4 separate regions of the Homo sapiens genome follow, and regions 2, 3 and 4 are each linked to region 1. The links are contacts of gene promoters, found by promoter capture Hi-C in human tissues and cell types (Jung and others, 2019). All regions are on one chromosome and are shown on one strand. Each heading gives the region's core, a stretch centred on a gene start or on the middle of the fragment in contact. The rest is flanking DNA. Distances are from core to core; before and after follow the strand shown.

What was found. Contacts are between HindIII fragments. The study calls those that stand out against the background at their distance.
Region 2: a fragment that was not itself captured here is called in contact with the fragment with the promoter of SCAF11 in region 1 in 1 of the 25 tissues and cell types used here (aorta).
Region 3: a contact is called between a fragment that was not itself captured here and the fragment with the promoter of SCAF11 in region 1, in 1 of the 25 tissues and cell types used here (spleen).
Region 4: a fragment that was not itself captured here is called in contact with the fragment with the promoter of SCAF11 in region 1 in 1 of the 25 tissues and cell types used here (spleen).

Annotation. Positions count from the first base shown.
Region 1 is chr12:45,989,088-45,995,283 of GRCh38, forward strand. SCAF11 (SR-related CTD associated factor 11) reads right to left here and starts at 1,487. Exons shown (of 15, transcript NM_004719.3): 1 at 1,266-1,487. RefSeq lists silencers at 561-630, 1,031-1,130, 1,471-1,520 and enhancers at 781-830, 1,191-1,400, 1,209-1,922, 1,641-1,840, 1,851-1,920 and 1 more. The HindIII fragment of the contact is 22,524 bases long and covers 1-6,196 here.
Region 2 is chr12:46,295,803-46,302,810 of GRCh38, forward strand. No RefSeq gene overlaps it. Among named protein-coding and RNA genes, the nearest start is that of SLC38A1, 30 kb to the left of the region's middle. The HindIII fragment of the contact is 3,590 bases long and covers 2,153-5,742 here.
Region 3 is chr12:45,544,872-45,550,987 of GRCh38, forward strand. All of the region lies in intron 1 of LOC105369743 (a long non-coding RNA gene), which reads right to left. Among named protein-coding and RNA genes, the nearest start is that of LINC00938, 180 kb to the right of the region's middle. The HindIII fragment of the contact is 4,842 bases long and covers 1,101-5,942 here.
Region 4 is chr12:45,651,474-45,658,189 of GRCh38, forward strand. No RefSeq gene overlaps it. Among named protein-coding and RNA genes, the nearest start is that of LINC00938, 73 kb to the right of the region's middle. RefSeq lists a silencer at 3,908-3,997. The HindIII fragment of the contact is 6,928 bases long and covers 1-5,524 here.

The DNA of each region.
Region 1 (6,196 bases), core at 237-2,736:
GAGAAAGCAATTGTTTAGAAACAGACTTGATTACATGTCAAAATTTTAATACAATTACTAATAAAATACAAAAACCAACCGTTATTTTAAAATGTACTGCCCTGATATTCTGCTGCTGAGGTAGGTGGTGATATGTAGAAATTAATTTTTCTTTTAAAACGAAAAAATAATGCATTTATTAATATGCTTTTCCCAAAATTCGGGGAAAATTCCCAAATCGGAGAAAAAAATTTAACATCAGCATCTACTACACAAAGCATTAAAAACATTTTTCAGCAGTTTTGCTTAAGTATCTTAGGTCAGTGGTAGCATGTTAGCCAAAATGTAATCCAAAATGAATGAACAACAGTCAGCTGGTAGACACTGTATGTAATACAATACGGAAATATATTGGAAGTATTTCAAAATTCAACATTTGAATCCGTGAATGTCTAAATCAAGTACTCTAAATCAGGCGTCTACTTTTGAAACAATACTTCAAAATACGTGTTGGTGGCAAGACCGCCAGCCATCTGTAGGAAATCTTTTTAATGGTTCAAAATTCCTAGGTCTCAGAAGGGGCGACTGATTAGGCTAAATTTATATCTCCCGGCCCCGTAGTTGTCAGCCCAGGTAGCGAATTTAAAACACTGGGGGTGGATGAGTAGTTTGAAGTTCAGATCAAGGAGTGAAAAAGGCTGATGCTTAGAAGCGCCGGCTCTTCCCCATTCGCGCACTCGAGAGGTCACGGCGTAGTAAAGTTTGGTTTCACTAGCGGGCTTGGACGCTCGCGACCAAAGTCTCCCAAGAAAAGCCGACACCGCGGTCGGGAGCGCCCGGAAGCTCAGCAGGACACGTTTCCACTGCAGGGAGGAGGGTGTCTGTGGCGGTTCTGGCGTGGAGCCCCTTCCCCCCCCCCCGTAGGACCCTGCACCCGGACGGGGACAGGCTTCGCCAGCTAAGGCGGCGGGAGACGCGTAGGCCACAAGGAGGAAATGGGACAGAGTGCGACAGAGAGGCGGCGGCGGCCCAGGGCCGGGCCGAGCCTCCCTCGCGGGGCAGCGAGAGGGAAAGGGGCCCTCCCGGCCGCAGCCTCCCCCACTTCGAGAGGTAGCTCCAACTTTCCTCCCAGCGCACGACGTCGCACGGGCCGCGCGAGATTCCGAAACTTTGTCAGCCCTCGCGTCGCCCTAGGCCCGCTCCAGCGCTCTGCGCCGGCCGCTAACCCTCGTCTCTCCCAGACAGCTGCCCAAGCCCATCCACCCCGCGGGTCGACCAGTGTTTACCTCAGACCGAGGTCGAGGCGCTCGGTCCGGCCGCGGCCCCACAGTAGGTTCCCAGGTCCCAGTCACTCCGCTGCCAAGTTCCCCAACATGGACTCCTTCGTCCGCTTTGTGGTGTTACAGGGTCTCTAGGACACTGACTCCGCTGGCTCGGTCCGGAGGCGGCGGCGAAGCAGGGAGCGACCCAGGTTGCGCTGCTCCGCGCGGCTTAAGCCACCGCTACTCCCCCTTCCCCCGCCTTGTCTAGCCTCCTCCCTCCCCTCCCCTCCCTGCGCGTCTCCCTCCTCCTCCCTTCCCTCGCTGTCGGCGCGCTAAGGTGACGACGGCGGCAGCCGGACTCGCCACATTCTGCTTACTCGCTCGCTCTGGCCCTGAGTGCATGTTCGTAGTACCCAGTTGGGCCGCAGGGGGGCGCTGGCAAACTGCTGTTTGAGACCGAGAAGCGTGGTGGGTGGAGTCACGTCACGCGGCCTGTGAGCGGGAGGAAGGGCAGCTGCGCTGGAGGGGCCTTCTGGGAAACGTCCTTCCAGCACCGCCCTTCGCCCACACTGCGGATGGTGCGCATGCGCAGCGCGTGGACTTTGGCCTCTGCCCTCCTTTGGCAGTTTTACAGGCTGCGTCGCGGAGGACAATGAAAGAGGCTTTAAGGGAACTGGACAGGAAGGATTTTGCGCAGGGTGTGCTCCTTATCTTTATGGTAATCTGATATTGAAAAGAGTGTCCGCATGTTTGCGGTGGATTGAGTGTTCACCTGGCTGCGCTGCCCACCTGAAATGCAGCCTGTGGAGTGAAGAGTCGGCAATTTGGAAGCCCACCTTTCCTCCTTTCTGGTGGGCATTTTTTTAGATGCCAGGGGGAGAGCTTTCCCGCCTGACTCCCCGAGCCTAGGGGCTTTCCCATGTCTTAACCCCACATCACAAAATTAAATTTGGGCCAGGTGCGCGGTGGCTCACGCCGGTAATCCCAGCGCTTTGGGAGGCCGAGGCTGGCGGATCGCTTGAGCTCAGCAGTTCGAGACCAGCTTGAGCGACGTATTAAGATCTCGTTTCTACAAAAAATAAAATTAACCGGCCGTGGTGGCGCGCACCTGCGGTCCCAGCTCCTCGGGAAGATGAGGTGGGAGAATCGCTTGAACCCGGGAGGCGGAGGTTGCAGTGAGCCGAGATCGTTCCACTGCACTCCAGCCTGGGCGACAGAGCGAGACCCTGTCTCAAACAACAACAAAAACTTTATCATTATTTACTTAAAAGGCCTCCGCGTTGTGGTTAGATAGTGACGTGTGTGCCATCCTCCACTTTTTCCCCCGGCGGGTTGTTAAATGTTTTGTTTTACCTCGGAGGTATTTTGACTTTTTCAAAGTCACTGATTATTTAACCTCCTAGTTTCTCTTCTCGTCGACTGCAGCAAGCTTCCGGTTGCTCTGCCTGCCCTCAGTGTCCCCCATCTACCAGCTGACCTTCCAGTCCTCCCACCCACGCCCTTGTCCTGCTTGCGGCTCCCGCAGGACTAAGCTCTGCTCCCCGCGCGCGGCTCACCCAGGTCCCAGTCGCTTTCAGCCGCGCGCTCACACGTTTTCCTGTCGCCTGCCCCCGTTCTGTTCGCGCGTGCTGCGCTCTCCAGCCACCCTGACGCCTGCCCGGGATGAGTTTCCTCCCCACTTTGCCGCGGCCCCGCCGACCGACCGCTTCACTGCCGCCTTCCTGCATTCTCGCAGACTACGTTGCGGCGTCCCCTGCTCCCGCCCTGAGGACGTCGCTTTTCTGGCACTTTCATCCTATGCATTCTGTTGAGTCTGCTCACTGTCTCACACTGTGAGGATTGGGACAGTGTCTTATCACTTTCATAACAGCGTCTGGCACTTGCTGAAGGAACACATGAATGGCGGTCTTGTCGCTGTCAAAGTCTTTGGAGTTTTTCAGTGTACTGTTTTTGATATGGGGTTTGGGAATTTAGGTGGCTTTACTGTATTTGGGATATTTGAGGGGAAAATGAGCTAGAGGCGTTAAAATGCTTTCTTCTGATGGAACAACAAAATTCTTATGAAGGACCTTTCCCTGTCAAAATCAGAGCAAATAGTAAAGGATATATACTATTTGGATATAAAGAATGATTATAAAGGATGATTGTTAAGAGAAATAGTGAAAATTAGTGTGGAAAGCTATAACCAGATCAACATTTATGAGCCATCCAACAGAATAAGGGTGTAGCTTTTTTATGTATACAATCTCTAGGATTCACTCTAGAGAGTGTAACTCCTGATATGGACTCCTGGTGCAACATGCTTCTGTGTATGTTTTATATTTTAAAAAATCTATATATATTTAAAATCTAAATATATTTTTAAAAATCTCAGTTTTGTTTTAGGAAAGTGTTTTTTCTCAAAATTTAAGCCCAAATGATAAAATCTGCCAAATAGAAAACTATTTTAAATTGATAATAACAGTATAGTTTCATCAAAACTAAAAATACCAGATCTTTTGATGTATTTGTTTCCTAGCAGAGAATTAAGTTTTCACGTTCTTACTGTTGGCCTCCTAGATATCATGTGAGCATGTCTTAAGGAAAAATGCTCTTAATGCCACTGTGGTTTCTACCTTCATGTGCAAATAGAAGAGAGTGGTGGTTTGTAATAGGCCATTCTTTCCAGAGAAAAGTTCATGTGTATTTCTGTATATGCAGCATCCTCCTTATTATGTTTGGATGTAAAGATTTATTATTCTCTCTGATGTTTTCATATTTTTTAAATTTACAATATAATAAAGAGGTACAGAGTTCTAAATCAATAAAAGATGGGCTATAAAATGGAGGAGTAAAGTTGATATATGAACCATCATTGTCAACATTTTAGATTTGATTTTAACTGTAAAAAGCACAAATGATATGCATCATAAAACAGCCTTAAACTGAATGTCCACTTGGTGTGTTGCACTTTACCAGGCACTTAAAATATCAGTCCTGTCACATAGCAACAGAAACCCACAGTGGCACGTTTAAAAATGGGTAATCAACGTATTGATTTTGATGGAGCTTTTTCAGAAATAACTGCTATTTTAATTTAACTTATAAATAGAATACAATATCAAGTTCAAATTAAGGGAGGAAATCATGCTGTAAATATACTGGATTGAAAAACATGGTTCTGGCCAGGCATGGTGGCTCATGCTTGTAATTCCAGCACTTTGGGAGGCTGAGGTGGTTGGATCACTTAAGGTCAGGAGTTCGAGACCAGACTGGCCAACATGGTGAAACCCCATCTCTACTGAAAATACAAAAATTAGCCCGCATGGTGGCATGTGCCTGTAATCCCAGCTACTAGCTACTCAGGAGGCTGAGGCAGGAGAATCACTTGAACCTGGGAGGCGGAGGTTGCAGTGAGCCGAGATGGCGCTACTGCACTCCAGCCTGGGTGACAGAGTAAGACTCCATCTCAAAAAAAAAAAAAAAGAAAAAGAAAAAAAAGAAAAACATGGTTCTAATACTGTCACTTAACACCTTTTCAGTTTTGAATAAATCACCTAACTTTTTGGTCTTTAGTTTCTATAAGAGGACATTTTTATTTTAATGATCTCTGGCATTTTTATGGCAATAAAAATGTGTGAATTCAAAGGACATACTGTCTGAGCAACATAGTGAGACCTAGTTTCTACTAAAAATAAAATTAAAAAAATGACCAGCTGTGGTGGCGTGCACTGGAAGGATTGCTTGAGCCTGGGAGGTCAGGGATGCAGTGAGCTGTGATCACACCACCACACTCCAGCCTGGGTGACAGAGCGAGACCCTGTCTCAACAAAAAGGGGTGATGTAAATTTTAAAATTCATGTAAGGAAAACATGACCAAATATACAATATCCACGTGAGGAAAAAATAGTTTGCAGGAATTTTTTTAAAAACCAGTGGTGGCTGGGCATGGTGGCACACACCTGTAGTCCATCTACTTGGGAGGCTGAGGTGGGAGAATCGTTTGAGCCCAGGAGGTTGAGGCTGCAGTGAACCATGATCATGCCACCTCACTCCAGGCTGGGCAACAGACTAAGACCCTGTCGCCAATAATAATAATAAGAATAGTTATTTCATGTCACAACTATGAAGTATTTTAATCAGGATGATACTATCCAATTATTTTCCATGTGGAATTAAATTTATTTCAGCAACAATTAATTGGACATCTATTTGGGAGGTGCTTTGAGCTTGTATATAAATGAATACAGTGTCTCACAGACAGTATAGTGGTTTCAAATATGTACAAAGACAAAGTTGCATTCCTTGAAAGAAAATAGAAAACAAAAAACAAAGGAAGAATATAAATATAAAAAGAATATAAAATAATAAAAACAAAGCCTGGGGAGGGAGATGGAATAAAAGAAGGAGAGAATAGAAAGGAAACTGTGATGATTAATTTTAGATGTCAACTTGACTGGATTAGGAATACCTAGAGAACTGGTAAAACATTATTTTGGGGTATGTCAGTGAGGGTGTTTACAGAGGAGATTGGCATGTGAGTCTGAGTGGACTACAAGGGGAGGATCCGCCCTCAAAGTGGGCAGGCACTATCCAATCAGCTGGGAGCCTGGGTAGAACAAAAACAGTCTCTGTCTTCTGGAACTGGGATACACTCTTCTCCTGGCCGTGGACATCAAAATACCAAGCTCTCTGGCCTTTGGATTCTAGTGCTTAACACCAGCACCCCTGCCATCAGGTCTTCAGACTTGGACTGAACCACACTCCCAGCATACCAGCATCTCCAGCTTGCAAATAGCCTGTTGTGGGACTTGTTAGCCTCCATAATCACATGAGCCAATTCCCCTAATAAAGCCCCCCTCATGTGTCTATATATCCTATTAGTTCTTTTTGCCTCATATCTAAAAATAGTTCAAATTCTAAGACTACTTCTTCATTTCAGTTTATATTTACTCTTTTTAAAGGTAATAAGCATT
Region 2 (7,008 bases), core at 2,698-5,197, 310 kb after region 1:
GAATACTCTGATTTGATCATTACACATTGTATGGATGTATCCAAATATCACATGTACCCCATAATATGTACAATTATTAGGTATCAATTAAAATTTTTTTAAATAAAGAAAGCAGACTCGAATCAGGCAGTCTGGTTTCAAACCTAGGCTCTGCCCCGTGCTGGCTGCATGACCTTGGGCAAGTTACTTTACCACGTTGTCCATCAGTTTTCTTGTCTGCAAAGTGGGGATTAAAAGAGTTCTTGCTCAAAATGTCCTTGTGAAAATTGAGTTAATGTATGTAAAGCCTCTAGAATAGCACCATATAGAAACAGCCAAATGAATCTTAGCCATCATCATTATCATTACCACTTGGGTAGTTAAAGATATATGCTCCTCTGATCAGTTGAAGTTGCAAAACACACAAGCTCTCAGGCACACCTGCACACATTGGTATGTATACACACACACACACACACACACACACACACACACACACATGCTACACATAGTCCAATTGGCTACAGCTCCTTCTCTGGGGAAACCATCAATGCACTACTCTCCTACTAAAATCCTCTCCACCTCAGCTCTTTCTCTGAGAAAGGGAGATAACTCCTGTAACAGAATCTATGGGCAAGATAACACAAGAGGAAAGGGCAACCTGTGGCACAGCCAACTCTGGACAGAGTATCCTGGTGCCCTCCTTACCTCCCTTATCAGCCTATTTCCTTCGTTGTGCCACTCCTACCCTCCACTGCCACTCCAGGGCCTCCCCTATGTCCAGTGCCTGGATTCAGTGAATTTCAGAAGAGTCCCTGCTAAAGTATGAACTTTGATTAAGGTATTTGCTGATAAATTCAACTAGGAAACCTCACAGGGGAACTTTTCCTTTTTTAGAGGAGGAAGGAGCAATGCTTGCTTCATGGCTTCCCTGCCTCCAGTCCTTCTGCTTTTCCTCAATACCTGTCCCCATTGTGGTGAGAGCCCACAGCAAGTGGAGCAGGGGAACCATTCCGACTCTACCTGCCACTCCTCTGGAGGGGCTGGGGTTATATATGCTGGGTTAGGGAGACACAGCCCACATCAGCTGTGGGCTCTGTTACCAGATTATAAGTCAAAGCAGGGCTTCTTATATTTAGCTTAGAAAATGTTATCACCAGACATCTAGTCAGTCTCTGTGACTTCTGTTCCACAAGAAACTTTCACATTTTTAGGTGGAGAAAAGGAGAAATGGGCCAGAGGGCACACTAAAAAGAGGAAGGAGGGTGGGGTGCGGTGGCTCACACGTGTAATCCCAGCATTTTGAGGCTGAGGCAGGTGGATCACTTGAGGTCAGGTGTTCCAAACCAGCCTGGTCAACGTGGCAAAACCCTGTCTCTAATAAAAATACAAAAATTAGCCGGGTATGTTGGCAGGCACCTGTAATCTCAGCTACTCAGAAGGCTGAGGCATGAGAATAGGTTGAACCCGGGAGGCGGAGGTTGCAGTGAGCCGATTAGGCCACTGTGCTCCAGCCTGGGCAACAGAGCGAGACTCTGTCTAAAAAAAAAAAAGAAGGAGAAAGAGATTTACTTATGGGGTTGAACCTCTCAAGAAGCTTGCAAAGTCCCTGAAAAGACTAGACTTACCAGTGGCAACGCAGGTGTCAGCTGAATAAGTGGCCAGATCTTGAAACCATCATAGAAAGACAGCAATCCAAGCTGGGATGCTGGAATTTTCTTCATAATATATTCCTCCATATGATAATTTCCTATAATCACTTCCTGATAAATAGTCTTTCAGCTCCTTGGACTGGAAATAAACAGTTATTTCATGAGATGACACATACTCCAGATATTTGAGGTAGCTTCTCATGTATTCTCTCTGCAATGCCCTTCCCCTCTCCTTCCCTGCCAATCTGTCTTTTTTCCGTCTTCCTCAGCCTAAGTACCTCTAGTCTCCTCAACTATTTTCTATATGTGTGTGGACGATGTGTCCCATGCTTTAAATTTTCAAATATATGATCTGTGCTCACTTTGGCTATTCTATTGTCAGATCATTGGTCCCAGATTTTGTTTGAAGATGTTTCTCTGGACCATCACCTTACTTCCAAAAATCTCTAATTCTAACTCCTGATCTTGTTCTTTTCCTCCCGCTTCATCCCATTACAACTTCCTAAATTCTTTGCACGTTTACCTATAAAAAGTTCTGACGTCTAGAGGCCTTTAAACATTATTCTAAAGCGCTAGTGGACATGGAATGCAGGAGTGACCAGAAAGTGCTAGGAGACAGTGCAGATAATAAATCCTATGTGACGGAGAGGTGCATGAGAGGCGTGCAGAATTTGGATCTAAAGTTAATATAAAAGATGAAAAGTACATCCAGTCAAATTTATTCCTGAAATCCCTTAAAACTTTGGGTCTTTCTATTCCTTGACAAATATTTGTCATTTGTAGGTTACTTTTGCTTTTTATCTCTTTATTAGTTAGTGTTTTTCTATGGTTCTCGATTAGAGTTTTTCCATTTTTTCCTTGAGAATGTCTCCTCAACCCTTGCTACTCAAGAATCAACAGCATCAGCATCATCATCACCTGAGACTTTATCAGATATGCAGAACATCAGGCTCCACTCTAGGCCTGCAGAATCAGAATCTGCATTTTGAGCAGTTCCCTAAGCGATTTTAACCAGTTCCCTAAGTGATTTTAGCCAGTTCCCTAAGTGATTTTAGCCAGTTCCCTAAGTGATTGCTTTGCACACTGAAGTCTGAGAAGCTTTAAACCATCACTGCCAGCTTGGCCACCTCAGCCATCTAAACTATGCTTCTCTGTCAGTGGCTGGAAAAATCTTAAAATCACAATGTCTTGTTCCAAAATTTCACCAACATATACCAATCATTTTATCTTTGACCACATGCATTGATTCTTTTTAAAAAGGTATCCATAGTTAAATTAGGGACCTTCAATGTGAGTGAAGTACTCCAAGAAGTACAAGAACAGAGTATTTCACTGCACTTCTAGAAGAAGGTGAAGATTTAAATCTTTTCTTATGATAGAAAATGGTAATAAGGAAAGGAAGGAGCATGAGCAAAATAAAAAGGAACCTCAGGACTGGAGCTGAGAAGGCAGAGAGATAGATTTGGAATGGCTACGTTGTGTTGCAGTGAGAATGAGTTAACAGACACTAACCCAATATCTGTGATTGGAAAACTGAAGTAAGGTGTGTGAGAGTGGTGTGTGCAGTTAATAGAATATCTTAGGGACATTTGAGCAAAGAAATCATGTGACTAAAATGGATGTTGCAGTTTTTTAATGAAATTGTAAAAGATGGATTGTAATTTTTTTCAAGTCTGTTTTCCCATCTGTAAAACGGAGCATAATATCTAGTGGACAGAATGTTGTAAGGAATAAAAATAAAACATGTATTGAGCTTAGGCACACAGGAGGCAAACAGCTGGCAACAGAGGTCACTATAGTTATTCTTGTGTGTGAGTTGAGAGCCTAAAAGCAGAGAAAACATTGAGGGAGCTCCTCCAGTAGTAAGAACAATAGCAATATTGGTCAAGTGCTCACTGTGCTGGGCACTATTTTAATAGTGCATTACAGAAAGTAACACGTACTCCTCACAACAGTCCTATGAAGTAGGTACCATCATCCCCATCTGTCAAATTGGAGGCTAAGGGACAGAGAGGATAAATTATTTGCATAAGTTGCCACAGACAGAATTCAAAAGCTCAGCATGACTTCAAACCCCACATTCTCTATCACCATGTTATTCCACTGCAAGTGTTCCAATGAAGACAAGGAGGAGATGAGTGGTGGGAGAAGTAGAAAAAAAAATGGAAGAACAAAAACTCATCAGTGAGAAGGAGATGACAATGTGTGAGCAAACAGCTCTGGATGAATAGAAAGAGTCAAAAATAACTGAGCTGATAAGTAGGGCCAGGAGGAGAATGGCACTATCACCAGAGGTGGAGGTTTGTTTTGTGTTTGGCTTAATGTCCTTGAAATGTTTAAGATTTGATCAAAATCTCTTTTGTTCATTTTGGAGCTATAAAGCTTATTTTGAAAAATAGGATTGCTTTTGCTTTGTGAACAAAGAACACTTAGCACCCATCATTCACCTGAAGCTTGTGTGTCCAGTGATTAGTTCTGTACATAGGTAAGCATTTCTTTCAAGTAGCACATATTTAAAGAGCATAAGTGCCTTTTTTTCACACCCCATTTAATTTACACTGGTTTTACCTTCCTGCACAGATGGCCTGCTTTTCCTTTTCCTGTGCTTAATTCTCACTGAAGCCAGAGAGTGTTAAATGCCCATGAGGATACAGTGGAGTTAAGGAATACAGGAAGAGGAGTCAGATGGTGCTAATATTACAACAAAACTGTAGGGGGAATGGTTTCTAAAGTTATGATATTATGCATAACACATTAAAAATGTAATTTTGCAGCTTAGTTAATAAAATGGGAAGATCCAAGTAATGTTAACTGAAAATAAATTAGGAAACTGGTATATGCAGTATGATTCTCAAATGGCAGAATTTAAAAGTGCATGTAAATGTATGTTTTTGAAAAATACATATAATCACATAGTTTTTAAAGGTCAGGATTCTTAAAAATATGTATATTATTAGAGGCTATTTCTGGGTGAAAGCACTTACGGTGATTTTATGTTCTTTAAACTCATTTTCATTTTTGCATTTTTCTACATGAGGCATTAATTTTATAATCAGAAGAAAATTATACTTTTAAAAAAGAGGAGTGGCATTTAGAGTTTGTTTTCCCTGTTAGGTGTTTTAAGTCTGAATTAAAGCTACTGTTTTGGCCAGGCGTGGTGGCTCACTCCTGTAATGCCAGCACTTCGGGAGGCCAAGGCAGGTGGATCACGAGGTCAGGAGATCGAGACCATCCTAACATGGTGAAACCCCATCTCTACTAAAAATACAAAAAATTAGCTGGGCATGGTGGCAAGCACCTGTAGTCTCAGCTACTCAGGAGGCTGAGGCAGAGAATCGCTTGAACCCTGGAGGCAGAGGTGGAAGTGAGCCAAGATCGCACCATTGCACTCCAGCCTTGGCAACAAGAGTGAAACTCTGTCTCAAAAAAAAAAAAAGCTGCAGTTTCTGCTGAGATTTTACCCAGTGGGGGCAATATTTGTCCCCCAAATTTCTGCAGTTGCATTTATGTTTGTGAGAGCCTTAAGTGCGGGGAAGAAGTCAGGTGCCGCCTCTTTCACCAGCTGTTAGTTGTTTAACAACAGTAAGTAGAAGTGTTCTTCCTATTAAGTGGGAAAGGGAAGCCGGCCTGCAGGGACAGGCAGAAGTGGGGGGTGATAAAGAGGAATCTTCAAAAGGGCCTTCCTCTTCAGCATTTTTCAGTGATGATTATTTGAGAGATTTGAACAGCTGCATCCTGCAGCTGTGTTTCCAGCTGTGCTAAGTGGGGTTGAGCAAAGCACCCCAGTGGCTTTTTTCTGGGACATGTAGACTAGCCAGTAAATACAGTAAATATGGTAGAGCTGGGACTTCATTGAGCCTTGAGGGAATTAGCTTTCTGGACAACTTTCAGAAAGTTGAAGTTCTAACTTTCAGGCATTGGAAAGATCAAGTGAGCCAATGTACATAAAATAAAAACCTACACAGCACTATATTGATGAGTTTCTGTGAGATTATCAATATTTCTCCCCTTAAGCTCTAAAGCTTCAATGCTTAATCACCATTACTTTCACATATGTTGTGGAAAACATTTTTAATTGCTTAGCATATTTTTAAAATGTGAAAACATTACAATGACCATGATGAATGTTTTAGAGCAAGGAAAGAATGATTCATCATTTGAGAACCCAAAAATTTTCATTTTGGCCTTAAAATATTTAAGCTTATAAGAATAAACTATATTACAAAAAAATTTTGAAAAAATTAGCATCCCATTACCCTAAAACAACTGTCATCAATCCTGTGTATTCATTTCCAAGATTTTTTCTAAAGGCAACATCTGTCAAGTTTAAATTGTAGTGGATATAATAATTTTGTAATCTAATTCCTTTTTGCTTTTCCGTTTAGTATCATATTAGATAGGAGACAGTTTAGGATAGTGGTTAAACTCCCAGGCTCTGGAGTCAGCTATGAGCTTCTATAAGGAGTTCTCTTTTCATCAAGTGGAAAAGGAGACTAGCTAGATAGGAAGAGGGAAGCGAGCATGAAGGAAGAACCTTTAAGGGAGCCTTAAATAGGCTGGGAGCGGTGGCTTATGCCTGTAATCCTGTAATCCCAGCACTTTGGAAGGCTGAGGAGGGAGGATCACACGGTCAGGAGCTCAAGATCAGCCTGGCCAACATGGTGAGACCCCGTCTCTACTAAAAAAACACAAAAATTAGCCAGGCATGGTGGCATGCACCTGTAATCCCAGCTACTCAGGAGGCTGAGGCAGGAGAATTGCTTGAACCCGGGAGGCAGAGGTTGCAGTGAGCCAAGATTATGCCACTGCACTCTAGCCTGGGCGACAGAGCAAGACTCTGTCTCAAAAACAAACAAACAAACAAAAAAAAAACAGCAACAACAAAACGAGAGAGCCTTAAACCCTGCTTCCTAGGGTTATTGTGAGACAGAAAGGAAGTAATATCCATACATATCTAATATACAGCTTGGAACATAGTAAGCATTTAATAAATGGTAGCTATTGTACCATGCATATATTGTAACATAGACTTTATGTAAATTATTTTAATATCAACATAGAATTCCATTGGATAAAGGTAGTATAATATCTTTAATCTATTATTGGCTTTTAATTCTCTTTCTTTCTTTCTTTCTTTTTTTTTGAGACAGAGTCTCGCTCTGTCGCCCAGGCTGGAGTGCAGTGGCGCAATCTTGGCTCACTGCAAGCTCCGCCTCCCGGGTTCACGCCATTCTCCTGCCTCAGCCTCCTGAGTAGCTGGGACTACAGGCGCCCACCACCACGCCCAGCTAATTTTTTTGTATTTTTAGTAGAGACGGGGTTTCACCGTGTTAGGCAGGATGGTCTCGATCTCCTGACCTCGTGATCTGCCCGCCTC
Region 3 (6,116 bases), core at 2,272-4,771, 440 kb before region 1:
TATGGTTTATGGGAAAGGCAGACATTATGTAATTTTCGTAGGGTGTGATGAGTTTTGCGGTGGAGGCAGTAGGCACCATGCAGTATGCAGGGCAGTAGGCAGGGTAGGGGCCAGGCACGGGATGGTAAGACCAGGGCCCAGAGGAGAAGCCAGCTGTATTTGAAACAGCAGCAGCAAAAAAAAAAAAAAAAAAATGATTCTCATCAACAACTCTGAAGCTATTTCCAAGGCTTATGGATGAAGGAGACTCTAAAAATTTTAATACCTAGTCTTAACTCAGAAACTTTCTGAGCAAATCATTTGACCCCTGGATTTCCATTTCCAGATATATAAAATGCTGATTTCTTAGGGTTACTCTAGGAAAGAGTGAAGATTACTGTATGGGCTTCCATTGCTTGTGAAGAATCTACAAAGGCATGAAAACCTGGTGGTGCGATTATCGATGGGTAACTACCTAATTAACCACACATCTTTTCTTAGAAGAGATTATGTCAAAGGAGCACATATAGAGGAAAACCCTCAGGGACTTTCATTACAGAACCCCAGAGCCAGAAAATATCTTCGGGTTCATTGTTTGGTGGCTTCCAAAGTTTTCACTACTACAGACACCTTTCACTGGTCTTCTATCATGAACTTTATGGTTTTAGAGATTTGAGCTACCATGTTGCCTACATTAAGTAATTTTGTTTATCCATTTTGATTCAGTAGAGAGCATTTCATTTGTGCAAGATGCAGGTTTTAACATCCTGAGCTGATATAATCCAACCAAAATAAAATAAAAATCTCCCATCACACACTTATTGGAACAAATTAGGAATATATAGAAAGGAATAGCTTCATCACCACTGTCCAGATTTTGACATATTTCCTTTCAATCTTTATTTTAAGTGCTGTCTTTCTTAAAATACCTAAGATTGTACTGCATGTCCTTAAGGCAATGAAAATGGGCATTTCTTGATGTGGTGCTGGAGGGGTATTGGGTATCATTTACCCTTCCCAAGCCTGGGTTGTGCTATGTGACCCCCTTCCCACACCCTGAGACCCCAGACTACCCTGTCAATACGCTTCTAACACTTCCATACGGTACTCAATTAATCTGTTGCTATCTAACAGATTAAATAGCTTTGATTCCCCCTTTATACTGTAAAACTGTGTCTTATTCATCTTGGTGTCACCAGCACTTTGCAACCTATCTGACATGTTGTACAAAGTTGATACTTTTTATGCTGTACTGAAATATATATATACATATATACTGTTATATATAAAAGTGTGTGTGTGTGTATGTGTGTGTGTGTGTGTGTCTAGAAATCTTGTAACTCTACCACTGCCTTTGCATATCACAGGAGGCTTGGTTTGGTTCTCTTCTTTCAGATTAAAACACTGAATACCAACGTGGTTGATGGACAGAGGATTCCATATATAAGACTGAGTGATTGCCAGAAAGCAACAGAGGACAGAGGCTGGCATATTCTGGAATTCCATCACTTTAAGATAACCACTATTTATATTTTAGTGGTACAGTAATATCACAATACTCTTTTATCCTGAGCAATTTTTTAAAATGTAGACTTTTTAAAATCCTCCTCCTTCCCTCTGTCATTGAGCATTCCTCTTTTTTACCAGACATTCCTCTGCTTCATCCTAACTCCAACATAACCAGGGTTAGTGGCCAGTACATATCCTTTCATGACATTTTCCATGTTGTCAGAATCATAAACAAACATAAACAAACATGGAGTAGGGTTGTCATTTTCTGATTTTCAAAAATAGGCTCATGCTATATATATACTTCCCTAGATCTTGCTTTTTGCCCTTAACAATACATTGCAGAAATATGTCTGAGTCAGCTGGTTTTGATCTACCTCCTGTGAAGTGGGTCCCATGGTCAGATGCTATGCTGTATGGGATTCCACACCTGCAGATCAGGCATTTGGCAAGCTCCTGGGTGAGTTTTGGCTGAGGCTTTGCAGAAAGGAAAGGCAAACTAACACCGAGAATCAGTATCTGTCCTGTGAGGTCAAACCACTGGCCCTTCCAGGATGGACGTGACCCTTTGTAGCTGAGCTGCTACCAAGATGCTGGTGGTGTCCTTGAGAAACAGTGTCCATCCTTTTCCCCAGTCCTCTGACCAGCCAGCTGGGTCACTGGCCCCAGCCCAGATTTCTAAGAGCGACCCTAGCAGCAAGTTTGCCCCATCCCCTGGGGTCCTCGCCGGCGTTAAACCCCATGTACTGAGAAAGTTCCCTAAAGTCAGTGAATTCTTGCTTATCCAGTTGTATGTTCTGCCTCCTTGATTAAGCCTCATCAAAATTTATTCCCCAGTGTACCTCCCTGGCTCCTGCCAGTAAGTGCTATTTAATCTTTGAAGCTCCTTTGAGGTGTAATCTCTTTCCTCCCTTATCAGTCCTAGCACATTCCTAGCTCAACTCTGCTGGGAGTTAACCCTAGTTATCATAGAGGCATTCAGGAGAGGCAGTAGAGGCAGCTCCTTAGAGGAACACCTGTTGCTTTGTGGAGGAAGGCCACAGCAGTCTTCCCACATGAGGGAAGGGCTAGCTTTTCATCGAGAGGGTTGGGCTCAGAGTGTTGTGGGTTCAGAAGAGTCCACACAGCTACAGTCCTTGCAGGCAACCACCCAGATGTCCCCATCCCATATTTCAGGATCCTAAGCTTTCCCAACCAGAGCCCTGATCTTAACAGTACAGACCTGACTTGTTGAGAATTTACAGGTCTCTGGAGCTCCTGGATTCTAACTACTAAGTCCTACACTTGCTCCTCGGCTACATCCATGCTTCCACTGCAGGAGATTAGGGCCTCTTACTAAACTCCCAAAGAGGCCTTACAGAGGGGCTCTCCAGCTCCCACATTCAGCCTATAGATGTTCACTCATAGCCCTCAGCTTCTCATTATCTCCCTGCAGAGCATTAATACAACCTCTAAACATCAACTAACATCACTGCCAACATCACTGCATTTGTTCCTCCCCATTGCATTTAAAATATCTGAATCATCAAGGGCATTTCCATCTACCCAGGTCACCACTGGTTAAATTTTTAGCAATTGAACTGCACTTTATATCAGGGATTATCCATGTCTACATAATACGTGGCATATTAGGCAGAGTAGAATAATGCCCCTCCTTCCCCACAAGATGTCTCTGTCCTAGTCACCAGAACCTGTGAATATGTTTACTTACATGGCAAATGGGACTTTGCAGATGTGAATAAGCTAAGGGTCTTGAGATGGGAAGGCTATTCTGAACTGTCTGGGTGGGCCCAGTGTGATCACAAGAGTCCTTATAAGTGAAAAAGGGAGATAAAAGTCAGAGCTGGGAGAAATTTGAAGATGTATGCTACTGGCTTTGAAGAACGGTCTATAAACCAAGGAACGCTGGCCTCTAGAAGCTGGAAAGTGCAAGGAAACAGATTCTCCCTGAGAGCCTCCAGAGGGACACAGCCCTGCTGACATCTTGATTTTAGCCCAATGAGACCCATTTTGGACTTTTGTCTTCCAGAACTTTAAGATAATAAATACATGCTGTTTTAAGCCACTAATTTGTTACAGCAGCAATAGGAAACTAATACTCATGGGGTGGGGTGCTCCTTGCCACCAGCGAATTATCCAACCCCCAACCCATCCTACTGCCTTCGTCCTCAGACCACTCCTGGTACCAGTTGTGTGTCTGGGTCCTCTGAGAAGCAGTCACCAAGTTGGAATGCAACTGGCAAATGATTATTGGAGGAAATACTTATGAAGCATAAAATGAAAACAGACAGGAGTAAGCAGACAGAGTCTTCAGGTTGTGATGCAAGTCTGACAACTGGGAAAGGAGAGAGGGAAAGAAGGACTGGATAGGAGAAGGTAGCTCGGAGAAAGTCTCAGCCAGATCACTCAAGGTACCAGAATAAAGATTGTCCCGTCCAGACAGGGTGGTCTCAGCCTGAGTGCTGTGGCATGTGTAAATGTTTAATGGCTGGAGGCTGTCAACCAGATATAATTTGCACAGCAAGTTTTCTCGAAGGAGATCTGAGGAGCCCATCTCCGCAGTAGCCATACTAACCCACCTCCTACCCAGGCCCAGGCAGTGCTAATTAACCAGAGGCCCGCTACAGGGGCAGACCCATAGCCACTGAGCTTATTGGCCAAGAAAATATCAGCGTTCATGCTCTCTGCAGGTAAGTAGATCCCAGAAGTAGGAAAGGACAGGCTGAGCAACACATGTCTAAGTCCCGATCCTCAAATTTACCGATCAGATAATTCACTTAGGGAAATGAAGAGAAGTCAGGATTGTTCTCCAAACAGAGCTCTCTTTACATGGAAAAAAATGTTAGAAGAGGAAAATAATGTCCTATTCTATCAGATTATTGGAAAAAATTTTAGTAGATATTAGATATTGCCAGATTGCTTTCCAAAAAAGTTAAAGCATTTTACACATCCACCAGCAATGCTGAGAGGATCTTCTTCTCCTATGTCCATACAGCATTAGGCATTATCACTCTTTTTGATTTCTGCCATTCTGAATACTTCATTTTTATTTAACCTACATTTGCTTAACTACTGGGAAAATAGAACATTGCTATGATTTGAATGTGAGTCATAAAGTTCATATGTTGGAAACCTAATTTCCAATGCAACAGAGTTGTAAGGTGGAGCCTTTAGGAGGTGATTAGGTCATGAGGGCTCTGCCCTCATTGACGAATTAATGCCATTATCACAAGAGTGAGTTCCTAATCAAAGGGAAAATTCCACCCCCTTTTACTCTCTGTCTCTCTCTCTCCCCCTTTCTTTGCGATGCCTCCTTTTGCCACCGGAGGAAAGCCCTCACCAGGTGCTGGTGCCTTGATCTTGGATTTCTCAGCCTCCAGAACAGCAGAACTGTGAGAAATAAATTTCTTTTCTTTATAGGTTATCCAGTCTCTTTTATTGTGGTTAGAGCAGCACAAAACAGACTAAGACAAATATCTTTTTGTATGGCGTTTGCTTTCACAGTTGTATGACCTGTCCATCCACAAGCTTGGTTTACTGACTTGTTTGGGTTTCTTTTGTTAATGTGTTTGTAGAAGTTGTGTATATATTATAGATACTAACCTCTTATTTACTATATGCATTGCAAATATTTTTAAAACAGTTTTTGGCCCATTTTTTGATATCTATTATCAGACAAAACAAGCTCTCATAAAGTCAAATATCTTTTCTTTTATAGTTTTTGGATTCCCCATCTTTGTCTTCATGATCTCCCTGTCGCCACATTTTCAATATAGTCTCCTAAATTTTATTCTAAGATTTTAACTAACTTATTTGTTCATTTACTATTTCATTCAACTGAAATTTATTTTTGTAGTATTGTTTCTTGTTACAAAATAATACATGTTTCTTGTAGACAGTTTAGGAAACTTCAGATGCTGAACAAGAAAAAAATTTAAAATTAGTCTTAATTCCCCACCTTCTTAATATGGAGCCCCTGTGAATGTCTCCAGCTATATCCTTCCAGGCTTTTCTTCTATGCATTGTACATTGTCTTACATTTTTAAAATTATATTATAAATTCTGTTATATAGCCTGCTTTTGTCTAACAATACACTCAGAACAATTTTTCAAATGTACCCTCATTTGTTTAATCACACCTCTATTTTTGGACACTTACATTGTTTTTCACTTTTTGCTATGATAGATAATGTGTCATGATGCTGCCTCTCATTTGTTCGACTATATTTTGCCCTGTGTTAAAGAGCTCACTCATTTTCAAATATGTTTTTTCAATTTTACTAGCATCTAAAATTACTTGTTTAAAAATCGGGTAAGGAGAGGGAAAGAAGGTCCTTTTTTTTTTTTTTCTGGGTCACTGTATTGAGCTATACCTAAATTAAATAGGGGACTTGGAACTATTTTTACAAAAAACTAAGTCTGTAGAATGCAATTGATAGGCCTAGACATTATGTTTCTAAAACGCATCATCTAGAAAAAGTTCAGAATTGAAGAATTCTGAAGTTAAAAAACATAAGCAATAAACATAGCATGAGGAAAATCACCAGGCGGAAGTATCAGAAAATCCTAAAGCACCAGCAGTCAGATAAAGGATTAACAGGGTAACAATGCCAGTTCTCTTAATACCA
Region 4 (6,716 bases), core at 811-3,310, 340 kb before region 1:
ATTAAGTAAAGCAATCAGGAGGAAAGGAAATGAACAGCCTCAGTGAGATTAGGATATAAAATATAAGCCCTAGGTTCTATGCTCTTTCTGAGGTTGCACATAAATTTGGCCTCAAATGCAGTTTGGCAAATTCCTATCAATTTGCAAGGGTTATATAAACATCAACACACTGACGTCTTTTATTTTATTTATTAATTTTTTTGAGACAGGAACTTGCTCTCCTGCTCTGTCATCCAGGTTGGAGTGCAGTGGTGCAAACACAGTTCTGGGCTCAAGCAATCCTCCTGCCTCAGCCTCCCAAGTAGCTGGGCTAATTTTTAAAAAGGTTTTTTGTCAAGACAAGGTCTCACTATGTTGCCCAGGCTGGTCTCAACCTCCTAAGCTCAAGCAATCCTCTTGTCTCAGTCCCAGAAAGTGCTGGGATTACGGGTGTGAGCCACTGCACCCAGCCACACTGAAGTCCTTATTAAACTCATAGTTTAATAATATCTTAGCTCATAGCTTATTCACAGCAATGGCATGGGGTGTAAATAAAAGGTCAGTAAGTCACAAATAATCACATATAATCCTAACATTTTCTTCTCACAAAATGTTGAAAATCTAGTTCTAGTCTGTAGTGAAATAGGCAAGTCTGAAGCTGACCTATACTTCCAAGTACAATTTTCATCTGAGAGGCTTAGACTTAGAACTTAGCAAGGAAGTTAATATGTATTTTGGATGGAATGTCTAGAAACCAACAGGTCAATAATTTTAGAGGAGGAGGAGAAGAAAGTTTCTCTCTTCTAAATGCAGAAAGGTCACAGTCTAATATCAACTAATGGAAGGAAACATATTCATAACTTTAGTAAGAGTAAATTTACATTGAGCTTATTTTTAAATTTTATTTTATTTTATTGATGTGTTTATTTATTTAGAGAGGGATTTTGCTATGTTGCCGAAGCTGTTCTTGAACTCCTGGGCTCAAGCGATCCTCCTACCTCAGCCTCTCAAGTAGTTGGGACTACCGGCACACACAACCATGCCTAGCAAGTCTATTTTTTAAAAGCAATTATACTATCTAGTTTTGTAATATTAACATTCCAGTTAAAACTTGACATGGGATCTACAAACTTTAGGGACATTAACCTTGGTTTGTAAACTTAAAAAAGTAAAGCACCCAGGTTGGGCGCTGTGGCTCACGCCTGTAATTTCAGCACTCTGGGAGGCCGAGGTCAGGAGTTTGAGACCAGCCTGGCCAACATGATGAAACCCCGTCTCTACTAAAAATACAAAACTTAGCACTACTTGAGAGGCTGAGGCAGGAGAATCGCTTGAACCTGGGAGGTGGAAGTTGCAGTGAGCTGAGAAAAAAAGAAAAGAGGAGAGGAGAGGAGAGAATAGGAGACGAAAGGGGAGGGAAGTGGAGGGGAGGGGAGAAAAGTGAAGCACTCAGAGGATGAATGAAATCTATACTTCCATAATTTTATTTATCAAATTCATACCTTGTATTACTGTGCCCCTGAATCTACATTAATTATTGGACAGTTAACCTAAATTCAGGTCCTTTTATATTTATTATACCTGAAAATTTTTTTCCCACATAGTAAGAAATTTATTGTATGATAAAAGCGTAGTTGGCCTCTTCTAATTTTCCTTCCTATGTTACCTTACCACGCTGGCCAGAGTTTTTATTTGCTGGCTGAGCATTCTTGCCAAACCAGGCAATAGAAAGGAGAATGCCACATTTGCAGGGCTACTGTGCAGTTTAAACCAGTTTTAAATCATTAGTCACCCAATAATAGAAGATGACAGAAGAAATTTCTCCCTCAAAGCACATGAGAAGGATTTTCTAAGGTTTTAAAAGTTTTCAGAAAGTAAAATGTCACCCATAGTTTTCAGTTCTTTGTTTCACGCTACTCTTCATCTTCTAACATCCCAGGTCTAATTATGAGTACAGATAGACTCTGCGGTGAAAACAATGAGGTGGAAATAATCGCTTTTCATGCAATCTAAAAGAGTCATGGTAATTAAGATACAGGAACAAAAACGAACCTAATCTATGATGCTAGTTTCTAAAAAAAAACATGAATAAACGTCCCCAAATTGATCCCATGTTCTCCCTTTCAGCTCCAACATATTCATTTCCTGGATAGATACGGGGAGAAATATTCTGTGTAGAAAAATGTATCTGTCTTTTTCAAATGCTTTCAGAAAGTGCTCTCCCACCCCCCAACAATTCCAGAGTAGGAAGAGTCCATTGACCATACCTCCAGTTGTGGTACTGAGGGCCCCAGAAGCAACTCAACCCTTTGTAAACTATGTAGAATAAGTAAAAATTGAAACAACATAAAAGAGTGCCACAGGCCCAATCAGACACTGTACCTTTTAACAGAGAATGTGTAAGTGTGAAGGCAAATCACAGTCATCTTGCCAGGAAAAGAAGTCACAACCAAAGAAATTCCTGACGGAGAATTCCCTGTATGGGAGGCTTGTTCGTGCTCTCCTGAGGTTGACAAGAAAAAGACTTCTAATCTACTCTTACCTTTGACCAAAGGGTTTTCTATGATAGACAAAGATAACTGTTGCAAATGCACAGGGAAAATGGAAAAATGAATATCATGGCATCTAGGTCTCTATTAGGCCTATGCTATTAAAAACCAACAGAAAATCCAATGCATAAGAGATCTCCTCTTCAGGACAGCAGCAGGCCATGTCCCAGGAGAACCTACTGTAAAGGAGCTCACTCCAGTGTGACGTCATGTGAAGGAGCCCACTGGGTCCAAGAGGATTCATCAGTTGTGCCAGTGGCTTCCAGTGCTGGCATTTGCTGGCTTAGAATCTCACGGCTGTCTTCCTCTGCTGGCCTTGCTTCTGACTTCAAAGTCATTCTACTTGAAAGAGATTCTGCCATTTTGCTCAGGCTCATATTTGGAATGTTAAAAGGTTGACCATTGTTGGGGAAAATGGTCCAGATGCCAAAATCAAAACTGAGTGCATAAATTATTGGGACAGATGGGTGGCCATCTGGAAAAAATACAGTTGGATTAAAACCTCACACATTTAACACGAAGCCAAACCCAATATGGTAAAACTTCTAATGTAGAAGAGTAGAACTGTAAAAGGAATAGAAAAACACAGGATAATTTTCTGTAATTCCAGGGTAGGGATGGTCTTTATGAAATAAAATCTGGATTATTTTAAAAAAGGTAAATTTAAGCATAAAGAAAAACAGCTGCATGAGAAAACATACAAAATGCAGATTAAAAAAGTAAAACAGGCCGGGTGCGGTGGCTCACGCCTGTAATCCCAGCACTTTGGGAGGCCAAGGCAGGCGGATCATGAGATCGGGAGATTGAGACCATCCTGGCCAACATGGTGAAATCCCATCTCTACTAAAAATACAAAAATTAGCCCTGCGTGGTGGCACGCGCCTGTAATCCCAGCTACTCAGGAGGCTGAGGCAGGAGAATCGCTTGAACCCGGGAGGCAGAGGTTGCAGTGAGCCAAGATCATGCCACTGCACTCCAGCCTAGTGACAGAGCACGACTCCATCTCAAAAAAAAAAAAAAAAGTAAAACCAAAAAAAATTTGTAGTCCATGTCAGAATAATTGTCTATATGTTATGATATATAATATATAGTGTCATATTTATATAAAAGTACATAATTTAGAGCTATGCATTTATAACACTATATATACATTTATCTTTATACACACACACACACACACACACACACCTCAAACTTGCAAACCAACTAGTCTGTATAAGTTACTTACAGTTAGTGAATTAATCAGCCAGATAAGTTTTTCTTGCGTATAGTCAGAGAAATGGTCTATATTCTCCAATGCATGTATATTGTATTAATTAACGTGGTTCATGCTGTTGTGAAGCTGCAGCTGTTGAGACTGTGTAGAGCTGAGCGCTGTCCAGAAGGAGGAGCACAGGTTGCCCTGAAGCTGATGCTCTTGTCTGCACTGTTGCCATGGAGCCCGTGCATATACGCTTACTACCAGTGTGGAGCAATCATTTCCTATTCCATTCAGTACCTTTTTATATCTTGTGATTTTGATTGATGTGAATGTATTATGTATTATCTATTCAAAAGATTAAATAGATTTTAAAGATTAATTTTTTAAAATTAGTGTGAAAGTTCTGGCTCAAGATGAGTGAATGAGCATACATTTTCCAACTCTCTCATGACCTGATTCAATTTCAGGAATAATGTGAAATGGAATAAATCCATGGAATAAAGCGTGCCTTCAGCAGGTAAGAAATTATGTTTTTCTAGAAGTTGGAATGCAAATGGGCTCAAATGGTCAGAGAAAACAAAGAGAAGAAATCATGATTCCAAATGCTCATAGAATAAAACTACAGAGGAGGTAGGAGACATTCTTCCAGAGTAGGCTTCTAGAGAATCCAAGTTCACAGTCAGCAGGTACAAAGATCAAGATGTTTGGGCTGAACGGCAAAAATTTTGAGGAACCACTAAGCTCCTCAACTTCCTCTCATATGAGCAGAGAGCAGCCAGTTGAGCATTTTCATTTCTACTGGGTATGGCTGTTGGGACTGGAGAAAAAGTAGAAAAGAGCCTAAAGTGGACCGCCAAAACAAAAATCAAGAGAACATAGCATGTGTGCTGAATCTAGAGGCTCTAGAACACTGATTGACTGAGCTAGAATCAGCTCATCCCCAAGAGTCAAGCCCTCCTTGCTGATTGGCAATTGCCTCCCTGTCTATGAACTATAAGAGATGCCTGCATCCACTGGAACTACCCTCTTGCCCAAAGAACTCTGCTTGTCAGGGAAGAAGGTTGTTGGGTAATCAGATCTATACAACTGTAAAGCAAGCTCAGCTGCCCACCTATACTAATTAACATGGTCCTTTTGAGGAAAACTAATAACAAAAAGAAAAAGATCAATATCAATATCAATAAGCAACAAACAATTAATTCAGAAGAAAGAGATGATGCAAGGAATAGAAAAAAAACCTTTGTAAATTAAAGATAGTATTCTCAAGGAGATTTAGGAAGATATTGCAAGATTAGAACAAAAATAGGCTGCTATTAAAAGATCAATAAGAAAATAAGTGGCACAGTCAGTCACATCTGTAATCTCAGCACTTTGGAAGGCCAAGGCAAGAGGATTGCTTGAGTCCAGGAGCTTGAGACCAGTCTGGGCAACATAGCAAGAACCCCATCTCTACAAAAAATTTGAAAATTAGCCAGGTGTGGTAAAACTTACCTGTCGTCCCAGCTACTCAGGAGGTTAAGGTGGAAGGATCGCTTGAGCCCAGAGGTTTAGGTTGCAGTAGCCGTGATTGTGCCACTGCACTCCAACCTGGGTGATGCAGTGAGACCCTGTCTTAAAAAAAAAAAAAGAAAAGAAGAGGCCTCAAAATATGATTGTTAAAAGAAAAAAATAGAACAGCTAAATTATAGAATTAACAGAATGAGCCAGTATGGTGGCAAGCACCTATAGTCCCAGCTAGTCAGGAGGTTGAGGTGGGAGGATTGCCTGAGCTCAGGAGTTTGAGGTTGCAGTGAGCTGTGATCACACCCCTGCACTCCAGCTCCAGCCTGGGTGATAGAGTGAGACTCTGTCTCAAAACAAACAAAAAGAACATAATAAACAAGGTTAAAGCTCAAATTAGTGATCTTGTAAATAAAGTTGTAACCAGATGAAATGACTTGCACCTGTAATCCCAGCTACTTGGGAGGCTGAGGCAGGAGGATCACATGAGAATTCCTGTCCTCAAGTCATCCTCTGGCCTCAGCCTGTGCGATATGCTGACAGCCCATCTCTCTAAAAAAAAAAAAAAAAAAAGAATAAAGAAAGAAAACAAAGTTATGAAAATGTTAGATATTACTATAAAAGAAAGCACAAATAATATAATGGAGACTGTACATATATTAATAGAATAAAATGTCCCTGGGAGAAAAGCTAGAATCCTCAAAATGAAAGAGTTCTCTGAGCATTAATGAATATAAAAGGAAAACACTACACCTAGACATATCCTGGTGAAATTTTAGAACTTTGAGTATAAAGAGAAAATGCTGCTTGGGTATGGTGCCTCACGCCTGAATCCCAGCATTTTGTGAGGCCAAGGCAGGAGGATTGCTTGAGCTCAGGAGCTTGAGACCAGCCTGAGCAACATAGTAAGACCTCATATCTACTAAAAACAAAAATTAAAAAATTAGCTGGGCATGGTGGTGCATTCCTGTAGTCCCAGCTATTCAGGAGGCTGAGGTGGGAGGATCGCTTGAGAGATGGCAGCTGTAGTGGGCTATGATCACGCCACTGCACTCCAGCCTGGGTGACAGAGCGAGACCCTGTCGCCTAAAAATAAAATAAAGTAAAAAAGAGAAAATGCTAAAATATCTCAGAATGGTTAAAACATTTAAAAGCAGACTACCCACAAAGGAAATAGAATTAAGCATCTGAAGAGCAACACATGAGTTTCCACAAAACTTAAGAGAAAATGATTTCAAATCTAGAATCTTATACTCAGATTAACTATTAGTTAAAGGTGAGGGAAAATCATGGCATTTTCAGGTTTATAGTAATGGCTAATATTTAATGAACTCTTACTATGAGCCAGTTGTATCTCCATGCTCGTTGCAATTATTAACTTATTTATTTTATACTCAGAACAGCCCAGCTAGTTCGGTACTATTATTATCACTGGTTTTACAAATGAAAAACCAGAAGTATAGAGAAGTTGAGAAACCTGCCAAAGA